Linked DNA regions of Homo sapiens: all the other regions are linked to region 5. The links are contacts of gene promoters, found by promoter capture Hi-C in human tissues and cell types (Jung and others, 2019). All regions are on one chromosome and are shown on one strand. The core of a region is centred on a gene start or on the middle of the fragment in contact, and the rest is flanking DNA. Distances in the headings are between cores, read along the strand shown. Region 1 overlaps GRK3 (G protein-coupled receptor kinase 3). Region 2 has its middle 36 kb from the start of GRK3. Region 3 overlaps GRK3 (G protein-coupled receptor kinase 3). Region 4 overlaps GRK3 (G protein-coupled receptor kinase 3). Region 5 holds the start of CRYBB2 (crystallin beta B2). Region 6 has its middle 18 kb from the start of GRK3.

What was found. Contacts are between HindIII fragments. The study calls those that stand out against the background at their distance.
Region 1: a fragment that was not itself captured here is called in contact with the fragment with the promoter of CRYBB2 in region 5 in 4 of the 25 tissues and cell types used here (dorsolateral prefrontal cortex, hippocampus, mesenchymal stem cells and 1 more).
Region 2: a fragment that was not itself captured here is called in contact with the fragment with the promoter of CRYBB2 in region 5 in 1 of the 25 tissues and cell types used here (mesendoderm cells).
Region 3: a fragment that was not itself captured here is called in contact with the fragment with the promoter of CRYBB2 in region 5 in 2 of the 25 tissues and cell types used here (mesendoderm cells and thymus).
Region 4: a fragment that was not itself captured here is called in contact with the fragment with the promoter of CRYBB2 in region 5 in 3 of the 25 tissues and cell types used here (dorsolateral prefrontal cortex, liver and mesendoderm cells).
Region 6: a fragment that was not itself captured here is called in contact with the fragment with the promoter of CRYBB2 in region 5 in 1 of the 25 tissues and cell types used here (dorsolateral prefrontal cortex).

The regions. Positions count from the first base shown.
Region 1 is chr22:25,618,504-25,622,582 of GRCh38, reverse strand. The region is part of intron 2 of GRK3 (G protein-coupled receptor kinase 3); the gene reads right to left. Among named protein-coding and RNA genes, the nearest start is that of GRK3-AS1, 55 kb to the right of the region's middle. RefSeq lists an enhancer at 1,917-2,703. The HindIII fragment of the contact is 3,659 bases long and covers 1-3,249 here.
Region 2 is chr22:25,526,384-25,530,383 of GRCh38, reverse strand. No RefSeq gene overlaps it. Among named protein-coding and RNA genes, the nearest start is that of GRK3, 36 kb to the left of the region's middle. The HindIII fragment of the contact is 4,655 bases long and covers 1-3,723 here.
Region 3 is chr22:25,678,902-25,683,244 of GRCh38, reverse strand. GRK3 (G protein-coupled receptor kinase 3) reads right to left here. Exons shown (of 21, transcript NM_005160.4): 9 at 4,330-4,343. Among named protein-coding and RNA genes, the nearest start is that of MYO18B, 61 kb to the left of the region's middle. The HindIII fragment of the contact is 4,338 bases long and covers 1-3,887 here.
Region 4 is chr22:25,576,695-25,580,479 of GRCh38, reverse strand. The region is part of intron 1 of GRK3 (G protein-coupled receptor kinase 3); the gene reads right to left. Among named protein-coding and RNA genes, the nearest start is that of GRK3-AS1, 13 kb to the right of the region's middle. The HindIII fragment of the contact is 6,370 bases long and covers 1-3,785 here.
Region 5 is chr22:25,218,093-25,222,305 of GRCh38, reverse strand. CRYBB2 (crystallin beta B2) reads right to left here and starts at 2,667. Exons shown (of 6, transcript NM_000496.3): 1 at 2,640-2,667; 2 at 823-902. The coding sequence starts at 876. The HindIII fragment of the contact is 11,576 bases long and covers 1-4,213 here.
Region 6 is chr22:25,544,894-25,548,894 of GRCh38, reverse strand. No RefSeq gene overlaps it. Among named protein-coding and RNA genes, the nearest start is that of GRK3, 18 kb to the left of the region's middle. The HindIII fragment of the contact is 3,110 bases long and covers 836-3,945 here.

The DNA.
Region 1 (4,079 bases), core at 171-2,670, 400 kb before region 5:
GCGCAGTTCCCTGCCTCCCCTCTTTTCTCTCATCAGGAGCTGCCTGCGTGGGCCTTCTGGCAGTTTCTGAAACACACTGCACTCCCTCTTGCCCTGGCTGATGACGACGCTGCTCCACATGATCCCCTGATCACATCCTCAAAGAAATGTCCCCTAAACAACTAACCTATGTAAGCGCTACTCGGTCTCCTTCAGGTCCTGGCTCTTCACGATCCCACTGCACAGCAAACGCTATGATCTGGCTGATACCCTCAGACGCTGAGGGAGCTGATCCCCGCATCCCGCCCAAGGTCAGTGTTCCCTGCATTCCAGGACCTGCTGCACACCGACAAGCTGCATGGTTCTACCAACTCACTTCTCTGCCAGTGTTCCTTAGTTTCGTCATCAATCAAATGAAGGGGCTGGAATGCATAGACTCTGAGGTTTCACTTAGGCCTAACATTCTGTGGTTTCATGAATTCAAGTGGGGTCAGTTTTGATTTCATTCTCTTCTGCTGGGGATCTTATTGCTATTTTGACAAAGAGAGGAGGGGTTTAAAGAAAAAAAAGGCAAAGGATGCCAACAGGACACAGTTGGAAAAACTGGTTATTTTACCAAGGCTTTAACTGAAACAGTGTGTTTCCCTTTAAGGAATCAAGCTTAACATGTAGAGCCAATAAAAGCCCCTTGGGGAGAACTGGCCCCATACCTTGTCTATAGTCTCTGCACAGGGTTCCTAACCTGTGGTCAGTAAAGAATGTCACTTTCTAACAGGTCTGGGAGCTCCCAGTTTATCTTGGGACCTCAAGAGGAGAGGATCACCCAACTCACAGGTATTTGAGGATACAAACCCATGGCTGGGCTCAACTTTAAGGGTCTTGTCTAAGATTCCTTGTGGAATAGAGTTTCATCAAAGCTAATCCAAAAGGTCCATGTAAAAATAACCATTCTTGCTGCCCTTTATGCAAATAATCAGGCCAAGTATAAGACTAAAGTTTATTCATAATTAGTTTTTACCAAAAATGAGGACTGGAGAGAAAAATTTTGCTCCAAAGGTTATCATATATTTGTCATTAAATCCTAGTCTCACTAATTGTTTTTAAGCTTTTTGCCTACATTTTAGACTAACTCTGCCTATTCCTGTGAATCAAATGGTGATCTTCTGCAGCTTGAAAAAAAGAAAAAATAGGGATGGGTAACGTAAACATGTGAATCAATATACTAGTTCTGGGCAATTATCTTGCAAATTCTGCCAGGTAATGAAAGTGAGTAAGGTGCCCATAACCCAGAGGTTTCTTTGTTTGGGAAAATAAAACCAAGGAACTTCACAGACCCCCAAAGGGGAATTCTATATGTTGGCAAGTAAAATTTTAGATGGAAATTACCTACCACACCACACTTGTGGGAATTGCTGTCCTCACTCTACTATCTCTATAGCAGGGATAATAGTTACTAACAAAAAGGAAGCATGAAAGTTTTACTATCACTAAGTCTGCTAGGACTTTTTATTGGGTCTAGTGACGCACTTTTAAATGAAACATGCTGCTTTTGGATGAACACCTCTAGTATAGTAAAGGAAAATCTACAGGTACTTAAAGATCAAATCAAAATTATTGACAGGCTCAAGGAAAATGCTGGCTTCAGTCCCGAGTGGCTACAATCCCTCTTTAATAAATTCCAGTCTTCTTGATGGAATTCGTTAACCCCTTTATTAAGCCCCCTCTTACTGATATGTCTTGTATTGATATTTGGACTCTGTATACTCAATACTACAACTCAAATTGTTTCTTCTTGCCTAGCAGCAATCAAACTCCAAACGGTGCTGTCAACTGAACCACACAAGGACACGCCATTCTTCTGAGGACCCTTAGATGGACTCCAGGAGGAGGCCTAGCTGCTGTTCCCCATTCAACACCCCTTTTCTGCAGGAAGTAGCCAGAAAGAGTTGTCGCCCAAAACCTCCTAACAGCAGCTAGTGGGGCGTCTCCACTGGGAGGAATGTTGTAGGAGTTATTAAGAAAGTATTTTAGGCAGACAAGGAGGAAAAGTTTTGGGAAGTTTTCATTTTTTAAAGCCTCTTGGGAAAAGCTTCTTGTAAAGCCCCTGCTCTTAGAGCCGGGCTGGCAACCTTTGATATGCAAATGCAGGCAATTAGAAACTAGGTCCACCCAACACGACAATCCCCACAATCCCTGCGGGACTTCTTGCCCTTGCCCAACATGTTCCTGGCAACCTAATGGCCCTCACATATCCCCACGTGTGCAGAACATCATGGTGCCCTGCATTTGCATATTAAAAGGCTAGGGTGGGAGGGCCAGCTTTTTCGCGGGCTATGTGAAAGACAGGCCTGGTCAAACCAATCCCGAGCCCTGTGCAAAACAGACACTGCCTTCTCCAGCCTCTCTATATATACACCTGGCTGGTTTCCGCCCCATTTGGGGTTCCCTCTCTTGGCTTTGAAGCGCCCCTCCCTCTGTCTCTGTACAGGGGAGCTTCTTCCTTCTCCCTTCCTTCTTGCCTATTAAACTCTCCACTCCTTAAAACCACACACACACACACACACACACACACACACACACACACACACACACACACAAAAAAGACAAAGGAAAGGAAGAGTAAAGGAAGGAATGTGAGGAGCAGGAGAGAGTAAAGGAAGAGAGAAGGGGGAGAGGGAACCACTTTCTGTGAGAAATGAATCATAATGCTTTCTCCTGGCAACAAGTAGCTACCTCAGGAAGAAACCAACCACTTCATAGATGTTCCAGCACCACCTAACCTGCTGCTGCCCCTTAAGACATTTCAAATACTTAGTTTGGTCTGGCTCAGTGGCTCATAATCCCAGCATTTTGGGAGGCTAGGGTAGGAGGATCACTTGAAGCCAGGAGTTCGAAACCAGCCTGGGCAACAGCCAGATCCTATCTCTACAAAAAAAAAAAAAAAAAAAAAAAACTAGCCAGGTATGATCGTGTGCACCTGTAGTCCTAGCTACCCTGGAGGCTGAGATGGGAAGATCACATGAGTCCAGGAGTTCGAGGCAGCAGTGAGCTATGATCACGCCACTAAACTCCAGCTTGGGCAACAGAGCAAGACCCTTTATCGAAAACAACGACAACAAAAACTCCTTACTCAGCTTAGTATAGTGGTCAAAAGCTTTAGCTTGGAGTGTGGTAGACTCCACCTCAGCCCATCACTATGTGCAAGACACCAGGCAAATCCCTTCACCTCTGAGGCTCGGCTCCTTGCCTGTAAAAGGGGGCCAAGAATGATCTGCACAGGGTCATTCTGAAGACTAAATGAGATCACGTATGTAGAGCACTGAGCACCAAGGGGCTCATTAACTGTTATCATGACCCAAACTGTATGGATACAGCCTTTTCTAAAGCTTCTTAGACTTACCTGTGCTGTTATGGGTAACCTGGAAGCCAACCATCATGTTTGTGTTGCACCATGAAGTTATAACAAAGGCGCTATATGTCTAGGATTTTACAGGGAGTCTCAGTTTCAAGTATTTATCAAATTTTCTCACCAAGAGCCAAATATTTCAAAAATGAAATTATACTTCAAGGGCATAATACAATAATAAGGACCAGACTTAATCTCTCACCATGACCAGCCAGGAAGCTAGAGAGAAAAGTTCTATGAAATAACTGTTTTCAGACATGGAAAGGGTTGCGGTCTTTCAGAGAAGGAAAATAAACTAGGAGGATCCCAGGATGAGCTGGCTCTTGGCCTAGAGGTACCTTAGGACAGTGGTCAACTGCACTGAACTGCAGCGCTAGGAGGGACACCCAAGCAGACCTTGGTGGTCTTGCTGAGGTGAGGGCATCAAGAGTTCAGGGATGCAGAGGTTCCTGGAAACACCAAAAAAAAAAAAAAATGAAGAGGTACAGCTAATAAGCCAGTGTGGCAATAACCTAACATACCAAAGTATATTCAATTCAAAAGACAACAGGAAAAGGAGAAAAAAGAACAAACAGAAAACAGTTAGAAGGATGGGAGACTTCACTCCAACTGTTTTGATAACTAATTGTAAATGATCTAAACATTCTAATGAAATAACAGGGATTGTTAGTCTGGGTTTAAAAAGCAGTCTCAA
Region 2 (4,000 bases), core at 147-2,646, 310 kb before region 5:
ATAAAGACATCACAAGAAAAGAAAACTACATACCCACTTCTTACTACCAAATATGAGTGCCTGTGTCTCACTGAGCTTTGGGCTCTGAGCACCCAGCACAATTCCTGGCACACAGTGAGAAACCATAGAGCCTTCTTTATTCCTGAATAATTTAATGGCTAACCATGGGCAATGTTTGAACTGGAAGAGGTTGTCTGACTTGAAAGGATTTGAATCCCAAGATAGTTTTAGATGGTTATAGAAAGATGTGTTATTCTTAACATCACTCAGAAAGTAAGTCTACCACATTCAATCAGCTTTGTGATTTCTCTCTTCCAAATTCCCCAAGGGAGGGAGTTGGAGCTGGGTAAAGCTCAAGTTTCACTTAATGAGGTAATGATTTGTCCTCTTTCTTGTGGGAGTGGCTGCAAAGATGAGAGGATCGCACAAGAGCCCAAGAGCATTCCTTGTGTATTTCTAGAACACAGTAGATAACCATATGGAAATATTACTCAGCAGCTGAACTACTCTCTGGGAAGATCCTTGGGTTGGGATTGGGAACAGGCTAGAGGGACAGAGGCCCTCCTTTTTTTTTTTTTTAAACTGATGCCGTTGTTTTATTTCTTTGCATGTTGCAGCACGCAGAACATTAATAGAGGATGAGAGTGCAGTGACTAAGGAGACGCTAGAAGGTTCAGGGAGAAAAGCAAAAGGAAAAGGAAAGGCAAAAGAGGTGTCATCACAGAAGTCCTATGGGGATGGGTGATGAGGAATCTTATTAAGTTTTGCTTTTTCATATGTCATGTAAATTCTCTCCCCAGTGTTTCCATAACACTTTGAGTAAAACACCCATTTCTCATTAACATAGTGTGTAGTTAGACTTAATTTGTTTGTTTTTAAAGATTGATCCCAAGTGCTGAGTCCATTTTAAGGTGTTCTCACAATGAGAGCAGATCTCCCCATTAGAACCTACTTGTATTTAAATGACAAGCATAATGCTTGATGTACCAACTAGAATGCTTTTAGTTGAAAGAAACAGAACCCCAGCTTAAAATAATGTGAACAGTGAAAGGAATTTATTGATTCATGTAAATAAAAATGGGTCAACACTAGTTTCAGGAATGGCTTGATCAGGGTGCTGACTCCATTGCTCTGCAGTTCTGTTGATTTTGCCTTCCTGAACATGATGGTTTACTTTTCAGACTCACTTTTATCATGGTGACAAAATGTCTGGAACAGTTCCGTACACCACATCTTCCTGAAGAAAAGTGTCTTTATCTCAATTACCAAACAAAATCCTAGGTTTCACTCTAACTGAGCAAACCAGTCACATGCCCATCTCTGAATCAATCACCATGGCCGACGGAAGTGCCGTGCTCTGATTGGCTTAGGATGAGATTTGTGCCTATCTCTGAAACAATCCTATGCAAGAGTAGGATTTTCTGATTGGGTTTAGTCAATTGGAGGGGGGTTTACCTCTGGAACTGTGAATGGAATCACTGTCCCCTAAATTATTATACATGACTGCCATGCATTGGGAGTAGAGTCAGTACTCTCAAAATCACATGACCCCATGCCTTTGCAGAGCAGATGAATGGATGCCGCTAAAAAAGCCATCAATGTCTTTCTGAATGGGAATTTTCCTTTGGGATGTAAAAAGTGCCTTTTCATTCTGGCCTTTGATTCTCCAACACAAAATTAAACCACTCTGCTACTTCTCCAGTGTGCATGGATGTGTCCACACTTTTCTTTGCTTGATATATTTTATCAGTTGCTCCAAACATTAGCAAAAAGCTGTTCATGGACTTGAACATTATTTAGAAACAAGCAACCCTGGTGTTGAACATGCCTTTGACAATATACAGTTGTCTACCTTGAATCTTTCGCTCCTTTCATTAGACTGAATAGCACAATGGTTAGGAATTGGAACTCTGGAATTGGACTGCCTGATTTCAGAATCTGGTTCTGCCACACACTGGCTGTGGACCTTGAATAATTTACTTAACCTTTCTGGGGCTTGGCTTTTTTATCTGCAAAATGGGGATAATGTGGGCACAAACCTCATAGAGCTGCTATGAGAACCAAATGCTATGATGAATATACAATGTTGGCTCAGTGCCCGGTAAATAGTGAATGCTCCAGAAATATGACGATGATGATGATGATGATGATGACAAGTAATTGGCCTTAGCTCTTGCTTTGTCCTTACCAGCTAAATAGAGTCTGACACCATAAATGTAACATTTTCTATAGCTCCAATAACAAAATCTAAGCATTACAGATTCTACACATTTGCTTCTTGTTAAGAATTTATAGATTCACAATCACCTAAGTCGAAAGGAGACTAAAATCTGAAGTTGGCATTCAAACAACACTGCTATTGGAAAAATAAATTTAAAAAAGGAAAACTAGGGCTGAATAGTTGAATAGTTAATTGTAGTACTTGAGCTATTAACATATTAATAATGAATTACTAATAATAATGATTAACAGTTTTGATATTTAGATATTAAAGAGTTCCTTCCAGAAGAGTTGTATCAGTCCTGTTTCACAAACAGGCAGCATCATCTGTAGCAGGGTACAGAAAGCAGTCACCAAGCACGAAGACACTAGAGTCATTTATATGATCAAGAAAGGGCTTTGGCTGAGCGCAGTGACTCATGCCTGTAATCCTAGCACTTTGGGAGGCTGAGGTGGGCGGATCATGAGGTCAGGAGTTCAAGACCAGCCTGACCAACATGGTGAAACCCGACTCTACTAAAAATACAAAACTTAGCCGGGTGTGGTGGCGGGTGCCTGTAATCCCAGCTACTCAGGAGGCTGAGGCAGGAGAATTGCTTGAACCTGGGAGGCAGAGGTTGCAGTGAGCCGAGGTTGCACCACTGCACTCCAGCCTGGGTGACAGAGCAAGACTCCATCAAAAAAAAAAAAACAAATAAGAAAAAAGAAAAGAAAGGATTTTAGTTTTTAGGGAAGCAATGCCCTTCTCTCCCTATCCTTTCCAACAGAAATTCAATTTTAAAAATCCTGACCCACTGGGATTTTATTCCCCCTTTCTCTACTCACCAAAGTAGTAGCTCATTAAATCCACATTCCAAAGCCTGCTGTAGTCAGAAGGCCCTTTCTGCATCCAGCTCAGCCTTTGTTATATCACATGGCTTTATGTGTCATAGTCATTATAAAAACAACTGATTTAAGAAGACACACGAGTTTTGGAAAATCTCCAGAGGATGCAGAGGTACAGAGCAGTGGTTCTCAAGCTTTGGGAGCTGCTAGAATCTTCTGGGCAGGCAAGTGGGAGAAGGAAGGACTGGTTCAAAATGCAGATTCCTGGCCCCAGCCCCAGAGACCCTAACTTGAAATGTCCAGGGTGGGGCCTGAGAGTCTGTACTTTTGTGCCAGCTTCTTGGACAACACTGAAGCAGATGTGGTGTGGATCATTCAAGAACCCTATCTGGAAGCTCAGAGGATCAGACCCTTCCACCTGAAGACAAACCCAACAGCCACTCAGTGTATTTATTTTATGGGGGTATATCACAGGGCATGTATTATGGACCGAATGTTTCTGTCTCCCTAAAATTCATGTTAAAGCTGTAACCCCCAATGTGATGTTTTTGGAAATGGGAACATTTGGGAAGTAATTAGGTTTAGATGAAGTCATGGGGGCCAGGTTCCCATGATGGGATCCGTGTTCTTCTAAGAAGATGAAGAGACCAGGGCAATGTGCACTCTCTCTCTCTCTCTCTTTCTCTCTCTCTCTCTCTCTCTTCCTATCCCTCTCTCTCTCTCAGTCTCTCTCTCTCTGCCATAGGACACAGTAAGAAGGTGGACACCTGCAAGACAGGAAGAGAGCCCTCACTGGGGAACTGAGTCTGCTGGCACCTTGACCTTGGACTTCCCAGCCTCCAGATCTGTGAGAAATAAGTTTCTGTTATTTGAGCCTCCCAGTCTATGGTATTTTGTGATGGCAGCCCGAGCTGACTAAGACAGTGTGTGAGCATGTGAGTGTGGGGGTGTGATA
Region 3 (4,343 bases), core at 469-2,968, 460 kb before region 5:
TACACTAGAATGCCATATAGATCATGGATCAGCAAATGTTTTCTGCAAAGGGCTAAAAAGTAAATATTTTAGGCCTTGCAGGCCGCATATAATCTCTGTCATCTATTATTCTTTGCTTATTTTCTTTACAATCCTTTAAAAATGTAAAAACCATTCTTAGGTAATGGGCTCTATAAAATAAGGCCAACAAGCTAGACTTGGCCTGAGCCACACCTGGCTTTCTGACCTCTGCTGCACAGCTACAGGAGGGAGTTACAGCCGTGGGCAACACCACAGATGAATCTTGTAAGCAACATGGAGTGAGAGAAGCCAAACACAGAAGGGCACATTTATAAAGTTCAAACACAATTTGCAAAGCTAAAATATGCTGTTAGAAATCTGGGTAGTAGTTAAGTTGGGTGCAGGGTTAGTGACTGGGAGAGGCACAAAGAGATTTCTAGAATACTGGTAACTTTCCGTCTCTTGATCTGGGTGCCGGAGATGCGTGTATTCCCTTATGAAAATTCATCAGTGCTATGCTAGATCTATTAGCTCTATTTAGATCTATTTTATCTATGAAATCCACTTAGATTCTTTACATAAAGTGTATACTTGTCACTAAACTGATTCAGTTTTTAAAATGGCCTAGATTGTCTATATCTTGTTTCTTAACGAACACAAAAAATTATTAAATTCCAAAGAAAATGTTCAAATTTCAACATAATCTGTAAACAGAATTTGCATTGTTAAAGCTAACAGCTCAAGACCACATCCCTAGGAGGCTCAGCCCCCCTTAAAATGACTGCCTCAGAGAAATCAAGGCTTCCCAAAGAATTTTTATTTGTTCCAGCAAACACTCAAAGATAGAGCCCCTATCTCCGAGCCTCCATGGGAGGGTAGGAGTCTAACTTGGATAAGTCCCAGTTAGCAAACCCAGATGGGTCCCATATGGACCATGCCCCTTCCTGCATTGTAAAATTCTTCACTTCCTTGACTCTGCTCCAGCCCGCATTGCACTCCACAGGCCACTGTCCCTTTAAAACATCCGGTCACCTCTGCACAAGTCAGAATGGAGCTCCATTATTTCTCTTACTGTCTAGTCATTACCAAATAAATGCTGTTTTAATTACCAAATAAATGCTTTAACTAAAGTCCAACTATATTTATCTTTGACTCGATGTAAAATAAACACGCAGGTGAAGGAATCAGATGTGGTTATCTCTACAGAAATCAGTTACTGCAACCCTCACCTCTCGGGGTGCTGAACAGACACTATAATGGGTTTCATGTGGAGTCCAGGACACAACCGAATACTGACCAATATGAAAAAATAAGTGGCAATTTAATGAAGGGTGGGATACAGTTCCAAGGATAATTATGGATAAGACGGCCTGCCTTGATTACAAGTCAGAATAAAAGTGGATTTTTAGAAGTAGACCATTAAGTAAAACTCTTGAGCAAGGAACTGTCTACTTTGATTTCCTACTAAAAGTCAACAAAATAGCTTACATTTTGCAGGAACTCGCCATAAAAAAACTGTGATAAAACAGGACCATGAAGTCGTTGTTGAAGAAAATCCTCCACACTGCAGCCGGAGCAATCTTTGTGAACTGCAAGGCTGATTATGGTCTCTCTCTAGTTAAAACACTTGGTTTCTAACTGCAGTCAGATCATTTAGGCTCCTCAAGATCGGCCGGCGATGCCCTTCACGGTCTGGCCTGGCCTTCATGTCTCTCTCCAGCTTTGTCTTGCACGACTCCCCCCACCACCGCAGACCCTGGCCCCTCATCTGATTCCCCCAACCTCACGTGCCTGGGCTCAGAGGAGCCACGTGCACTGGCTCCTCTCCAGGTAACCCCCAACTTCAGAAAGGCATTCGCTGACCCCATCTCCACCCTGCGAAAGGCCTTCCGAGCACTGTGTGCCTGTCTTCCATAGCTCTTGCCACAGGTCCCAGTTGTCCATACATTTCCGTCATCATTTGAATAATACATCTTTTCCCTTTCCATGCAGCTGTATGAGAACTAAGAACTGGGACCACAGTCCCAGCTTGCCGCAGAGTGCCTGGTTCAACCTAAATCCTCAACTGTGGTTCAGGGAATAAATGAGTCACGCTTCTGAGGAACTTAAATGACTGACTGGATGAATTGCTGACTGCTCTTCACAGCTGTGGACACGCTTATGCTGGTTCTCCAACATGCATATTTCCTTTTTTGCCATCTGAGAATTACAGAAGAAAACCGGGAACAGTACTTCCTACTGTCTTTTGGGGAGATGGGTAGGAATACTCAAGTTGAGATTAAAAAAAAAAAAAAACCTTCCAGTAAAAAGAAAACTGTGGTGAGTGAATGCATTTCAGTTACATGTCCACAATACGGGAAAGCCTGCCGATACAGTCTGATCAAAAGCTTCACTTAATGAGGGTATTTTCAACTAAGTTTTATTAAAAACTATAGAAAGTATCCCCTGATTAGCAAAAACAATTCCAAATAACTTTACTATAATTATTTTTGTTAAATTATGCATTTATAAATTTTAAAAATACCATACAGTTTTGATATCTAAATAAAATACAAATAATTCTTTTAAATTAGTTCAAAGTGATAGCCCAAAATAACCCTAATTTTTTAATTTACTCTTTTAGGGTTACACCAGTGAGAAACTACACAACCACTTAACCACATCTCCTCTCACCTGAGTCAAATCAATATAAAAATATTACATGAAAACTATACTTATGTTTTTCCAACATTAAAACGTTTATTTTCTATAGGCTTTCTTGAGAATAAATATCCAAGGCTTTGAGATAACTCACTGAAAATTAATATTTTAATAACCACTTAAAATCTTCATCCAGTACTCACATCCACGTTTGAAATTTAGGATACAGACATTTCCAATAGAAATTAAAAGCCAATGCCATTCACACTGACTCCAACAGAGTATGCAGGATGCTTGGTTTCCATTCTCATCAGTTAAAAACTTGGTCACACACACAAAGCAACTCTTATTTGAAATGCTTAATGCCCATACAGTGGGAGGTCAAGGCACATAATTAGAAATTATTTATGGCTATGGGGTTTCCATTTGTTGTAACTTAGCTACATTATGCTATTCTTTTGCTTCAATAGCAAATACCTCTTCCAGAAACACTTTAATGACAGAATAATATAAACCATAATACAATAAATACAGGTGACAAACGAAAAAACATACAGCCTATAAAGTGATGATAAAAGGAGCACTGGCCAAAAAGTCTAGAGATTTGGGGAAGGAAATTAACCTCTCTAGGTCTCAGGTTACTTGCTCAGCAGTTGAAAGGGATTCTTTCATTACCCACTAAAATTTGGTTTTTTCAGATCCTTTTGGTGAAGACCTTACTTAAAATCCAGCCATGGGATCTAGAAGTCTCGCACATTTCTCACTGAATATAAACCTTCCTGGCTGGAGTATCTACGGTTTCATTCACATGTGGGGTACACAGTTAGTTAGTGTCTGGCCCCTCCACGCTCACCCCATGCCTCTCCCTCTCTGTCCTGACTCCCTAACCCACTCTGAACACCAGGTCACAGCCATACCAGTGCACACACGCTGTAACAGGGTACTGAGAGGACGGGTTTTTTGGATGTGTCTTCACATACACTGGCATCTGTACAGACACATAAAAGCTGAGGTTTTGATCTTGGGTAATACCATTAACAGAAAAAGAAATTGGAATGGGCAGCTATTTAGTAAGTAAAGAAGATGTAGGGTAAAAGTGGGGTCACACATGTTGAGCTAAAAATGATAGCTTAATATACAAAGAAAGTGTCCAATAAGTAGAAATATGGTGCTAGAAATGGAAAGGCTGATAAACAGAGTAGCAGGTAGTGAGAGGCAGGTAAGATCACCTTCCAGTGAAACGCTGACTAGGGACAATCTCAAAAGGACAATTCGGATGTGAGTAATCCAAGTCGCTTCTCTCGATTCGCTTCTGAAGGACAGAAGCCACTTTTCTCTTACTTTTCCCCTCTAGGTTAGTCCTTCTTGCCAGTCGTTTAGTCAGGTCTTGACTATATTCCAGTGATTTTTCTGGCTATCATTATTTTCTGCCATCTCTACTACCATATTCTGCAAAGAAGGAAGTCAAGGACAAATAAATAGGCACTAAACGGAGAAGCCATGGGTGTGCATAATGGAGGTGGCTGGTGTTCTTCTAACTTGCAAAATCAAATAAAGAGATACTATCAGATTCTAACCCACCCAAGAACTCACTGGCCTTGCAATCAGCTAGAAGGAAAAATAATAAATCATCCTGCTATGAAACAAACAAAACATTTTTAAAAGAAATGCTGGAAATTGAATACTTACTCCTGTGCTGACAA
Region 4 (3,785 bases), core at 961-3,460, 360 kb before region 5:
AAATTATGGATAATTTTCTCATATAAACACAGTCTATTATCACTTCCCAACTCCCCCTTCAAATTGATAATTCCTGAAGATCCAATGCCCAGTCTCTAACCACATTTCCATGACTCAAGTGTCTTTTGTATAGCTGGTGGGTTTCAATCTGGATCTAACCAAGATCCACACATTCATCTGATAGCGCCATCTCTTAAATCTCTTCTGGGATTTAAGGCAGACAGGGAGAGTACCTGACTGTCCCCACCCCTGACCTTTATCTGCAGTGACCCCCTGAGGAAGCCGAGGAAGCCATCATGGGGGATGCCCTTTCTGTCTGTTGCTTCCCTATAAGGTCTTTCACTGTTCCTCTCTCTCCATATTTCCTATAAACTGAAAGTTACCTCAAAAGGCTTGATCATATTCAAGTCCACCATTTGGGGGCAGGAATACTTTTGAGATGGTTTTGGTACTTATATTGCCTCACATTAGGGGGTACACAGTTATTTCATCCTAGTGATGCAAATTTTACTTAGAAAATTCAGTTGGTGATAGTCTGATCTCTCCATCTGAAATTCCCCATCAATCTTTCATTTAGCGATATCATACATTGATGATCTTTGCCTAAATCAATATTTTCATTAAGAATTGCAAAATGGGGATTTTTTTAAAATTTCGCCATTCCTTCCACATTAATTTGCTGCCATTCTTCTGTAAAGAAGTCCCCTCGGCCAGGCTCGGTGGCCCACTCCTATAATCCCAGCACTTTGGGAGGCTGAGGCGGGCAGATCACGAGGTCAGGAGATCGAGACCATCCTGGCTAACGCGGTGAAACCACGTCTCTACTAAAAATACAAAAAATTAGCCGGGTGTGGTGGTGGGTGCCTGTAGTCCCAGCTACTCAGGAGGCTGAGGCAGGAGAATGCCGTGAACCCGGGAGATGGAGCTTGAAGTGAGCTGAGATCATGCCACTACACTCCAGCCTGGGGGACAGAGTGAGACACCATCTCAAAAAAAAAATAATAAAAATAAAAAAAGAAGTCCCCTCATTCATTGGTCGGGCACAGAGGCTCAAGCCTGCAATCCCAACTTTTTGAGAGGCTGAGGTGAACAGATCATTGAGCCCAAGAATTCTCGACCAGCCTTGGCAACATGGCGAAACCCCATATCTACCAAAAAAAAAAAAATTAGCCAGGCATGGTAGCATGTGCCCTTAGTCCCAGCTATGTGGGAGGATCAGTTGAGCCCAGGAGGTTGAGCCTGAAGTGAGCTGTGATCACACCACTACTGTACTCCAGCCTGGGTGACAGAGCGAGAGCGTGTCACAAAGAAAAAAAAAAAAAGAATTCCTGTCCTGCCACCCCAACCATCAACTAGGGTTCTAAATACCCTAAGAAGCAGTTTTTACAGGAAAGGCAGGATAAATGCTTAATTCTTTACCTTTTCAATTGCCACTATTCAGAGACAGAGTAGGTGCCTTGGTTCTACTGCTGGTGGTGATCAATGAGGTGTTCTCTTCTGTCTTGTTTGGGGATCTCTTGTGGATAGCATGAGATATCCACAAACTCATGCTTTGTTATTAGTTTGTTATTGCAGCCATAATAAATTACCACAAACTTGGTGGCTTAAATCAAGCAGAAATTGACTCTCTTACAGATCTGCAGGTCAGAGGTCTGAAATGGGCCTCCCTGGGCTGAGGTCGGTCAGAGTGTCAGTAGGACTGCGGTCTCACATGGAGGCTGTAAGGGACAGGCCATTTCCTTGCCTTTTCCAGATTCTACAGGCTGCCCACATTCCTCGGTCCATGGCCCCTTCCTCCTTCCTCAAAAGGCCAGCAGTGGTTGGTTGACTCATTCTCATGTTGCATCGCTCTGACACCAACTCTCCGCCTCCCTGGCGGTAACACTAGGGCCCACCTAGATAATCCAGGATAATCTCTTTATCTTAAACTCAGCACCTTAGCTGCTATGATGCCACCTACACCCCTAACGCCCCCTTGTCATATAACATAACATGTTCATAGGTTCTGGGGATTAAGATGTGGATATTTCAGGGGGGCATCATTCTGCCCACCACAGGGGGTTTGTATCAGTCATATTCTTTTGATGTTCAGGGTGTCTCACTTTTAGCCAGTGGAAACCCCTTCTTCTGGCCTCAGAGTTTGTTAGCGAAGGTGCCCACCACATTTCTTGGATGGCTCCTTTTTTTTCTGATACAACAGGTAACAGAGGGTCCAGGCTCATCTCACCCACACCTGGAGTCAGGCGCAGGTGTATGAGGTGCCTATGTGATGGAAATGCAATTGTTTCTTCGATTTTTTTAAAGACTGGGGATGATAAGCACACATATTTGAAAAAAAAATCATGAATTTCAAATAACCTTCCAATTCAAATTTGATCTTACAGAATTTTTATTTAACTCTTATCTTGTACTCATGTATCTCTTCATTTACACTTAAATTCTTGGTTCTAACCAAAAATGACATTATTCTTTTTTGTTTTACCCAAATATATATATGAAATAATTGTTTATATGAAATAATTTCAAACTAAAAATAATATTACTCTTAACAGTAAAGCTTCTGAATAAAATTAGAATTTCTTTGCAGCTCTACGTAGAGTAGACTATGCCCATATCTTACTTATTTCTAGGTGTCTATCTTAGAGAAAGGCTCACACATAGACCCAAAGGCACCTATGTAAGAACATTCACTGCAATTGCTCTTGGGCTTATGAGCACAGGGTCAAGTAGATCAGAGTTCTGACATCTCATGCAGCAATTCCAAACACTGAACAGATCTATATACTGCTGACGAGGAAAAGCTCCACGTGCATTACTAGGTGAAGAAGGCAAAAGCCATAAGTGGATTTACTAATGTGCTCCTGACAAATACAACTCTGTCCCAAGCTGAGCTCAACAACCTTTCTGGGTAGGGGTTAGATATGCAACCCGCTCCATTAATTTTCCATCACAATTTAGAATGAACTGCTAATGAGTGCCAAGTTTAACATTAAAAATCCTTTACGGGCCAGGCACGGTGGCTCATGCCTGTAATCCCAACACTTTGGGAGGCTGAGGCAGTTGAATCACTTGAGGCCAGGAGTTCGAGACCAGCCTGGGCAATGTGGCAAAACCCTGTCTCTACAAAAAGTAGAAAAATATTAGCCAGGCATGGTGGTGCACATCTGTAGTCCCAGCTACTCAGGAGGCTGAGGCAGGAGAATCAGTTGAACCTGGGAGGCGGAGGTTACAGTGAGCCGAGATCACACCGCTGCACTCCAGCCTGGGCAAGAGAGCGAGACTGTCTCAAAAAAAAAAAAAATCCTTTATTGTATCTAGAGTAACTGACAAACGTGTTCAAGTCAAGGATACTCATTTACCAACTGGCAGGCATGGAGATGAATTTTAATTAAGAATGCACCTAAAATCACAAAAAGATGTTTGGGGTAAGAAAACATTAAGAACTCATGACATGTAGCTTAGTTGGTTTCTCAAGTTATAACACTGCCATCATTATTAATAACAATCTTATTAGTTAACATGGAATCTATGACATCTTTTCTTCTAGGAAATTATTAATGTATTTATTATTAAGTTAACATGGCCAGTGAAATTATGCTACTGGAGCACTTCCTCAGACCCCTGCAGTGGATAATCTTTACTGAATGAATACAATGCATTTTCAAATTGTGTCACTAACGTCTGAAATTGACAGTGCTCCTCTAGTCAAATCCATGAGCCCCCTCCTCATAAAATAAGATTCACCAGGAAAAAGACAGTCTGAAGGTTTTTCTGAAAATACGCTG
Region 5 (4,213 bases), core at 1,418-3,917:
ATTGTCTGTCCTTCTTCTGGAAAGTAAGCCCTAAAAGGGACAGATTGGGGTGAGCAGGTGAGGGGCTGTATCTGCTCAGGCTTCCCTGGCCCAGGAGGCACTGAGTCAGACAAAGGGGCCATTCCTGAAGGAACCTGTGCCCGGGGCTACCAAAGCAGGGAGGCACAGGAGGGCAGTCAGGTGGCCGTGCCTAGATAGAGGTTTGAGGGCAGACTGGGTGTGACAAGCCTCTGACGTTGGGATAAGATCCTGCCGCCCTTGGGTGGACAGGTGGATGAGAAATCAAAGGCGGCATTATTTGCTGGTGTTAGGTGGATGCGCACCCCAGGCCGGGTGTTAGGCTGAGCCTGGTTTCTTTGGCTCTCACAACTTCCCTGTGCAATAAATCTGACTCCTCCTTTTATAGAGATGGAACTGAGGCTCAGAGGGATCAAATAATTGGCCCGGATCACACAGCAGGTGCAGAGCCAGGACTCACACCCACCTTCCATCTACTAATCCCATCTCTGACTGAGAATGAGGGTCTGCTCCAGTTTCAGGGAGCCCTGTAGACAATAGGGTGTGGCAAAACAGGTAAGGGAGAGAGAAACTGAAGTCTCCAAAGCCAGAGGCTGGTACTGGGAATCCCAGCATGCCAGCTATGGGCTGGGGAGGGACTTTCAGTATCAGCTCCAACTGTGTGGGTAGAGGAGACTGAGTCCCAGAGAGGGGCAGGGGTCGAGAGGGGGTACCCATGAAGAAAGATGCCAAGCCCATTTTACAGAAGGGCAACTAAGTCTGGGGGAGGAGCATTGCATGCCCCCTCCTCTGAGAGGTACCCACCTTGGGGTTGAGGGACTGTGGCTTGCCCGCCTGGGTCTGGTGATCTGAGGCCATGGTGGACTGTCCTGTGCAGGAATGACCTGGAAGACATGGGAAGCAGCAGTGAGGACCTGGAGGGGCCACTGGCTTTTTCACTCTGTGGGGCCTTGAGACCACTCCCCTCTGGCCCCAAACATTCTCTTTTTCTCCTGGTTTCAGACTGTCCCAGAGCTGTGGGGTCCGTAAGCAGCTACTTCAACTTCTGTCCTTAGCTTCATTTATTTCTATCCAGGCCAGCTGCAGGAGGAGGGAAAAACGAGGTCTACTCAAAGAAAGAGAGCAGTAATAAACTAGAGCTTAAATGAGGTCCAAAGTGGGTTCCCAACACTCAACCCCAGACAATGGATACCACACAGAATATAGAATGGTCAATCCCAGAACTTCTGCCTTTATGCAGTAATTTCTTAAATAAAATTGTGTGGAACAAACAAAACCTATGCATTGGCTGTATTTGGTGGTGTGGTGGTGCCCAGTTTAGGAACTCACAAAGTTCCCTGTTCCCCTGCTCCTTCTCCCACCCTCTCCCTGGGACTCCTCTCCCCATCCTGGTACCTAGATTTCTCTTCTCTGCCACTGGTTTTACTCCCCCATTAGTGAAATCATCTGATACAGAACCCACATTACAAGAAAGAGAAGAAATGGGTGCGACGGTAGAAATCCAGGCACTGTGGCAGGCAGCAGGGTAGACCTGCCTTAGCTAGTGAGAACATCAGAAAAGCCTGGAAAATTGTCAGCCTCTTCCCCCTTCCTGCAGAAGGGGTGGTCAAACCAGGCTGTGTTTCCCCAGGGGTAAGAGAGGAAGCCTGGCCTCCCTCTTCAGAGATAACGCCAGCTTCCAGAAGCCCCTTCCACATGAAAGGCCAATACTGGATGTTTCCCAGGAGGAAGAAATGCAGTTAAGCACCTTGGCAGCCAAATCTACTGCTCTCCCGCAAGAAACCAGCCCTCTGGGCTTGTCAGAGTGCCTGAGGTCCTGCCATATCACTTCCCAGTCCTGAGTGTTCACAGACTGAAGAAGCTCAGTTGGTCCAGTTCAGGAGCAGTCTCTGCTGCCTGCCAGAATTGAGACTCTGGGCAGGTCTCATCCTCTCCCTATGCCTCAACTTCCTGTTCTATAAAATGGGGACAGTAATGATGTCTAATAATACCTGTGAACAGGTTGTGAGGATTCAATTATGTAATGTATAAAACCGGAAGCACTTGGCCGTGGTCCCAGAACACACTCAGCATGCAGCAAATGGCAGCAATTGTGGCATTATTAGAGTCATTTCTACCATGCTTTAGTGGCATTGAAATCACCTGTTGCTGGGACCTGTCACATACCTGTGGCTGCATCCTATCCCCTAGCACTCCCAGAGGCTAGGCACAGAGTGGGTGCCCCCTAATTGCAGATGTGGAGGAAAACTGACTCACCCACCTAGAAACAATGCTGAACTGTCACTGGTTTGATTCTTGCAAAACCCTCAGTTACATTCTCCTCCTCAGCGACTGGCGAAACAAGGATGCTGATAGTCTGTTTAATATTAATAATAAAGAACATTGCCCCAATGCCCACTGTGTGCCAGGCACTGTGCTGGATGATCCCCTAACTTCTCTTGAATCCTTACAATAAAGAAGGCTTTTTAACCCCCTTCCCAGTTACCAGAAAAGAAAACTGAGGCTAACAGCATTGAAGTCTCTGCCCAAAGTCACTTGTCAGAATCTGGGTGCTCCCATGCTTGCGGACAGGGGTGAGGATGAGAGAAAGAAGGGAAGACAAGCAAGAGAGGCAATCTTACCAGTGACACCAGCCCCTGCGAGTGCCGTGAAGCTCGGCCAGCGGGAGGTGGCATTTATACCTTCCCCAGAAGTGCCGGTGCCAAGATGAGTGACCGCTGTGCTCCTGCGAAAAGCAGGGTGAGAATGCTGGATTAAGCTCTCACCAAAGCTCGGGTCAGCAAATGCCCACAGACATTGTGTCTCTGCACAATAATGTCATTAGCTTTCAGATTCGGCCGCGCCAGGGCGGTCAGGCGGCTGGGCAAGGAGATGCCCGCTTTGCATGCATCAGCCGTCCGGCTGCCAGGGCCAGGGGTACGCTGGGTTCACTGGTACGGTCAGTCAGGCCGTGAGGCATGGCAGACAGAGGAACATCTCAGTGGGCCTGGGGAAGAACAAGTAAAGAAGGGTGGTTTGGCAGAGTCTGGGCTTCATTCATCTACCCATTTATTCATTCAACAAATATTTGTTGGGCATCCACTTGGTGACAATCTCTGTTCCAGGGGAGTGTCAGGAAGAGGACCTACGCCAGCCCAGGCCATTCAGAAAAGCTCCTGGGAGGTAGCGCATCCCTCAGGGATGGAGAAGAGGAAGCCTGGGAACAGGGTGGGGGGACAGTTCCAAGCAGAAAGGGTCCATATACAAGGAACCAGCATGGTGTATTTCAAGAAGACCTGAAAACAGGTTAACAAAGCTAAAGCATGACATGTGACAAATAGGGCCTGTGCCAGGTGGCCAAGGTGGGCAGGGCCTGATGTTGCAGGGCCAGGGAGGCCAATTATGGAGAGTGCATTTTATTCTCAAGGCCCCTGGCTGTTTCTCTTTCTTTTCTTTCTTTCTTTCTTTCTCTTTCTTTCTTTCTTTCTTTCTTTCTTTCTTTCTTTCTTTCTTTCTTTCTTTCTTTCTTCTCTCTCTCTCTCTCTCTCTCTCTCTCTCTCTCTCTCTCTCTCCCCTCTCTCTCTCTCTCTCTCTCTCTCTCCCCCTCTCTCTCTCTCTTTCTTTCTTTCTCTTTCTTTCTTTTGAGATGGAATCTCACTCTGTCACCCAGGCTGGAGTGCAGTGGTGTGATCTCGGCTCACTGCAACCTCTGCCTCCCAGGTTCAAGCGATTCTCCTGCCTCAGCCTCACCAGTAGCTGGGACTACAGGTGTGCGCCACCAGGTCCAGCTAAATTCTTTTTTTTGCTGTATCTTGTTAGAGACAGGGTTTTGACATGTTGCCCAGGGTGGTCTCAAACTCCTGAGCTCAGGCAATCCATCCACCTTGGCCTCCTAAAGTGCTGGGATTCCAGGCATGAGCCACTGCACCCGGCCTGTTTCTTAACCACTGTCCTAGAGTGAGTTGCTCTTAGATCCCTACCACTGGCCCCATCGCTGCCACATGGGTGCCCAGCCTTTACTCACATTTCTTTTCTATTTTTTTTTTTTTTGAGATGGAGTCTCGCTCTGTCGCCCAGGCTGGAGTGCAGTGGCACGATCTCAGCTCACTGCAAGCTCTGCCTCCCGTGTTCACACCATTCTCCTCCTTCAGCCTCCCTAGTAGCTGGGACTACAGGCGCCCGCCAACACGCCCGGCTAATTTTTTGTATTTTTAGT
Region 6 (4,001 bases), core at 1,141-3,640, 330 kb before region 5:
TTGAGGTAGTCGTGGTTACATGGGTATATACATGTTATTGACCCATGCACTTATTGAGTTACACCTCAATAAAATATGTTTTAAAACAAGAAAATATAAGCAAAGTATTTGGTGCCGACCCTCTGTTCCAATCCCTAACCTTCTTGGCCATAGAGCAGCAGACTGCCTTGATTGTCCTTACCTGAGGCATCAAGAGAGAGGCCGTCTATCATTTCCCAGCCCAAGATTTCTTCCACACAATGATGTTGATCAGTGAGGCAACATGGGTATGCAACTATGTGAATTATTATCTATACCTATGTGAGTTATTATCTACATCTATATGAGTTATTATCTAATCTACACAAACTTGATCAGAGGCAGATGGAGATGCACAGCTTGCACCCTGCCTGGAGTTCTCCAATGCAACACAAAGTCTCTCATTCCTCTGCTCTCTCTCTTCCTTCCATGCAAGATTCTCCTCACAGTGTTCCACCTAGGACCCTTTGAGATCTGCACATCTAGTTCTCTCTCTGTCTCCCTCCCTCCTTCTCCCTCTTTTAGAGACTGGGTCTTACTCTGTTGCCCAGGCTGGCATGTAGAGGCATGATCACATCTCACTGCAGCCTCAGCTTTCTGGATTCAAGCGATCTTCCCAAGTAGCTAGTGCTTCTTCCCATATTCTTGTAATGATAACACTGGAGGTTTGGTGCCTTGAACTTCCATGTTTAGGACCTGAATGGCCCTTAGTAGTAAAAAAAAAAAAAAAAAAAGCAAAAAAAAAAACCTCTTGCTGTGTTCTTCCGGACATACAAATTATATCATGTTCTGTGACCACGATGACATGAATGACAGGGTTTTCCTTCCACATACCTCCATATCACAGACACCAGCTGGTTTTAAAACAACTTGGTTTTCACTGTGCTTGTCCCTGGGCATGACTCTGCAGAGGAGTGTTTTCCTTCACTCACATCAATCTACTCATTCCTACCATATTGTCAGACCTCTTTCATGTTTCCTGTTACTCTCCATCACTGAGCACGCCATAAGGACTCAGTAAATGGGAGCAGTGAACACTCCTTAGCAAACTGAGCATGACAGTCGCTAGAAAAGTGAGCCCTGCAAGAGAGCAGGTTTAACTCACGCAGACCTATCACACTGTTACTCAATTCACCCTCAAGCTGCTCTCACACTCTCCACTCTGACTCGAGGTATAACAACAACTTTATGATGATTAAATTCAATTTTGCTTCCTTCTGAGATCCTTCGATTGCAAGAAGAGAGGCCCTAGCTTAGTGTTTTTTATGCTGGGACTCAAGGCCAATCGGTAGGTCATGGAATACATTTACATGGATGCTAGCAGCATTTTTACATAATGAAGTGAAATAGAATGGAATAAAAATCATCAGAGTGAGTCATACACAGTCAGTTTTAAGCATCGTTAAGTGAAATATTTGTTTCAGATGTGTGTGTGTGTGTGTGTGTGTGTGTGTGTGTGTGTGTGTGTGTGTATTCCACTGCTTTGTATTAAATAAAATGTACTTCTTACCATGGGCCATGGTCAAAGACTTCCAGAGTCCCTGAGCCCAAAAATGTATCCACAAGCATTCCAGTCACTACAAAGGTAAATTAATAAATTGACTTCACCCAAGTGAACTATAGAGTTGAGTTTCTACAACAGAGGTCAGCCCCTGATCTGTGGTGGCCCCAACCAAGATATAACCTCCCCATAAGAAGCTCTGCCAACAACAGCTTAAGAATTAGCCTCACTTTCCCCACTTTAATGTAGAAATGGAAATTGCGACCACAATGATCAATGCAAATTGTTTTAGGTGAAGACACTCTCTGACCCCCCGGGTAGATGTAAGCACTTTAGAGAACAGGCTTGGAGAGTGTGGCCTTTTAAGAGATGAGTCACTCCTAATAGGCCCGTTTCTAGGCCAAAATGAGTGCTGTGTGATTTGGAGCAAAGTGCTTCACCTCTTTGGACTTCTGCTTTTTGACTGTGAAACAAAGAGTAAGTAGGGCTGGGAGGGATCCTTGCAGGGAAGTCTGGAAGCTTGTTGCGTTCAGCTGGTGCAGAGGCACTAGCTTCTCCCTTTTCATCACCTTCTCCCTGGGAGGGAGACAGAATCTTTCCTTCCCCACTACCCTGCTTTTTTTTTTTTTTTTTTTTTGTACTTCTGCATTGCCTCATTCATAGAAAGGAGACGAAGTTAACATAAAAAAGAGGGTTGGCTAGATTATGATTTCTCAACATTGGAAACCCATGTCTCCTTTCAGTAAAGTGGAAACTGTATGTGTTTGGACCACCTTTGCAGGCCTTGTTCTTCCCCGTGCCAAGTTCAGACCAGACCCAGGACATCTAGAAGGGAGAAGGGAGGGAAGGAAGAGAGGGGGAGAGGATGGGAGGAGGAAGGGATGGAGGGAGGAGGAAGGGAGGAAAGTGGAAGAAATAAATCCAACTTAAACAGTATGGCCAAGGGCTGTGGATTTTATTGAAGATGAGGTGGAGATATGAAGGGAGGGATGACATCACTCATCACACAGCAAAACTGCCCCAGTACCCTCTTTTGGCCTCTCTGCTCTTTTTTCCTGTTCTTTGAGTACAGAGACTACATCTACCGGATTATTCTGTTGACAACTTGGTTATGCTGGGAACCACATTTCTCAGACCTCCTTTTCCTGTATGTTCCTAGGTTAGAGTTGCCCCAAAATGAGGTTGTGCAAGACCAGGGAGGCTCATGGGAAGCAGCAGCCGTTACACTCTGAAGGTCATCATTGGTTAGAAGCAGTGAGGGGTGGCCAGACACAGAGGGGCCAGCAGCTTCCAGTTTGTCCTCCATCTTCCCTGCTCTGTATCTAGCTCTCCCCGACCCTGCTGACCAGCAGTGATGGCAAGCCCACCCTCAGACCCTTAGCGGCAGATTCACAGAGGCAGTCACCGTGGAGAACTAATACATTCCATAGACTTCTAGATCAGCCCCTTTCCTGGTGCCTGTGCACCAGCTCAATACACCAAGCTTCGGACTTCCCTACAAGCTCCTGACTCATTCACTTGCACCAGCCCTTGTTAGTGATCCTCAGTGCTCTCAGTGGACCTTCTTCCCCAGCTTCTCCTACAAGCGTGTATCATCTGATTCCTGTAACACAGTTCTTATTCCAAACATACCACCGTGTGGCTCTGCTTCCCGGACTAATCTCTCACCGACACACCTAGTTTCTGACCCCGCACCCAAACCGCTATCCCTCTCTTCAAAGATAGCAGAAATGAGATTCAACTGGAGGTATCAATAAAGAGCTAGACTCTGCAAGTTCTCAAAGTTTGGATAGGAAGTGTGGGCTGAATTCTGAGGACAAAAGGGAGCCATTGAATGTGTTAAGCAGGCACTGGGGCATGATTTGTTTTTTGTTTTTTTTTTTGTTTTGTTTTTTCAGAAAGACTGCTGTGAACATAATGGGTTACTGGAGGGCCAGAGAGATCGTGGGGAGACCAGTGAAAGGGCTGTCACATATGTTCCCAATTATTTATTTTCATCTATATAAATGGAGCAATTGTTCAATGAAAGTTAAACTTTAATCATGGCATGAAAGGGAATAAATCACTTGTCAAGTAAATATTTACTGTTTCTGGACTACGGCTCCTCAATAAAATGTGTCTGTCTCCTCTTTTCCCATCCAGTATCCAGCATAAAAACCAGAATTTAAGAACTCCTCTGCTGGGTGTGGTGGCTCACGCCTGTAATCCCAACACTTTGGGGAAGCCAAAGCAGGCAGATGGCTTAAGCCCAGGAGTTTGAGACCAGCCTGGCCAACTTGATGAAACCCTGTCTCTACAAAAAATACAAAAAACAAAAATAGCCAGATGTAGTGGTGTGCACCTGTAGTCCCAGCTATTTAGGAGGCTGAGGTGTGAGGATGGCCTGAGGCCAGGAGGCAGAGGTTGCAATGAGCTGAGCTGGCACCACTGCGCCCCAGCCTGTGTGACAGAGCAGGACCCTGTCTCAAAACAAAACAAAACA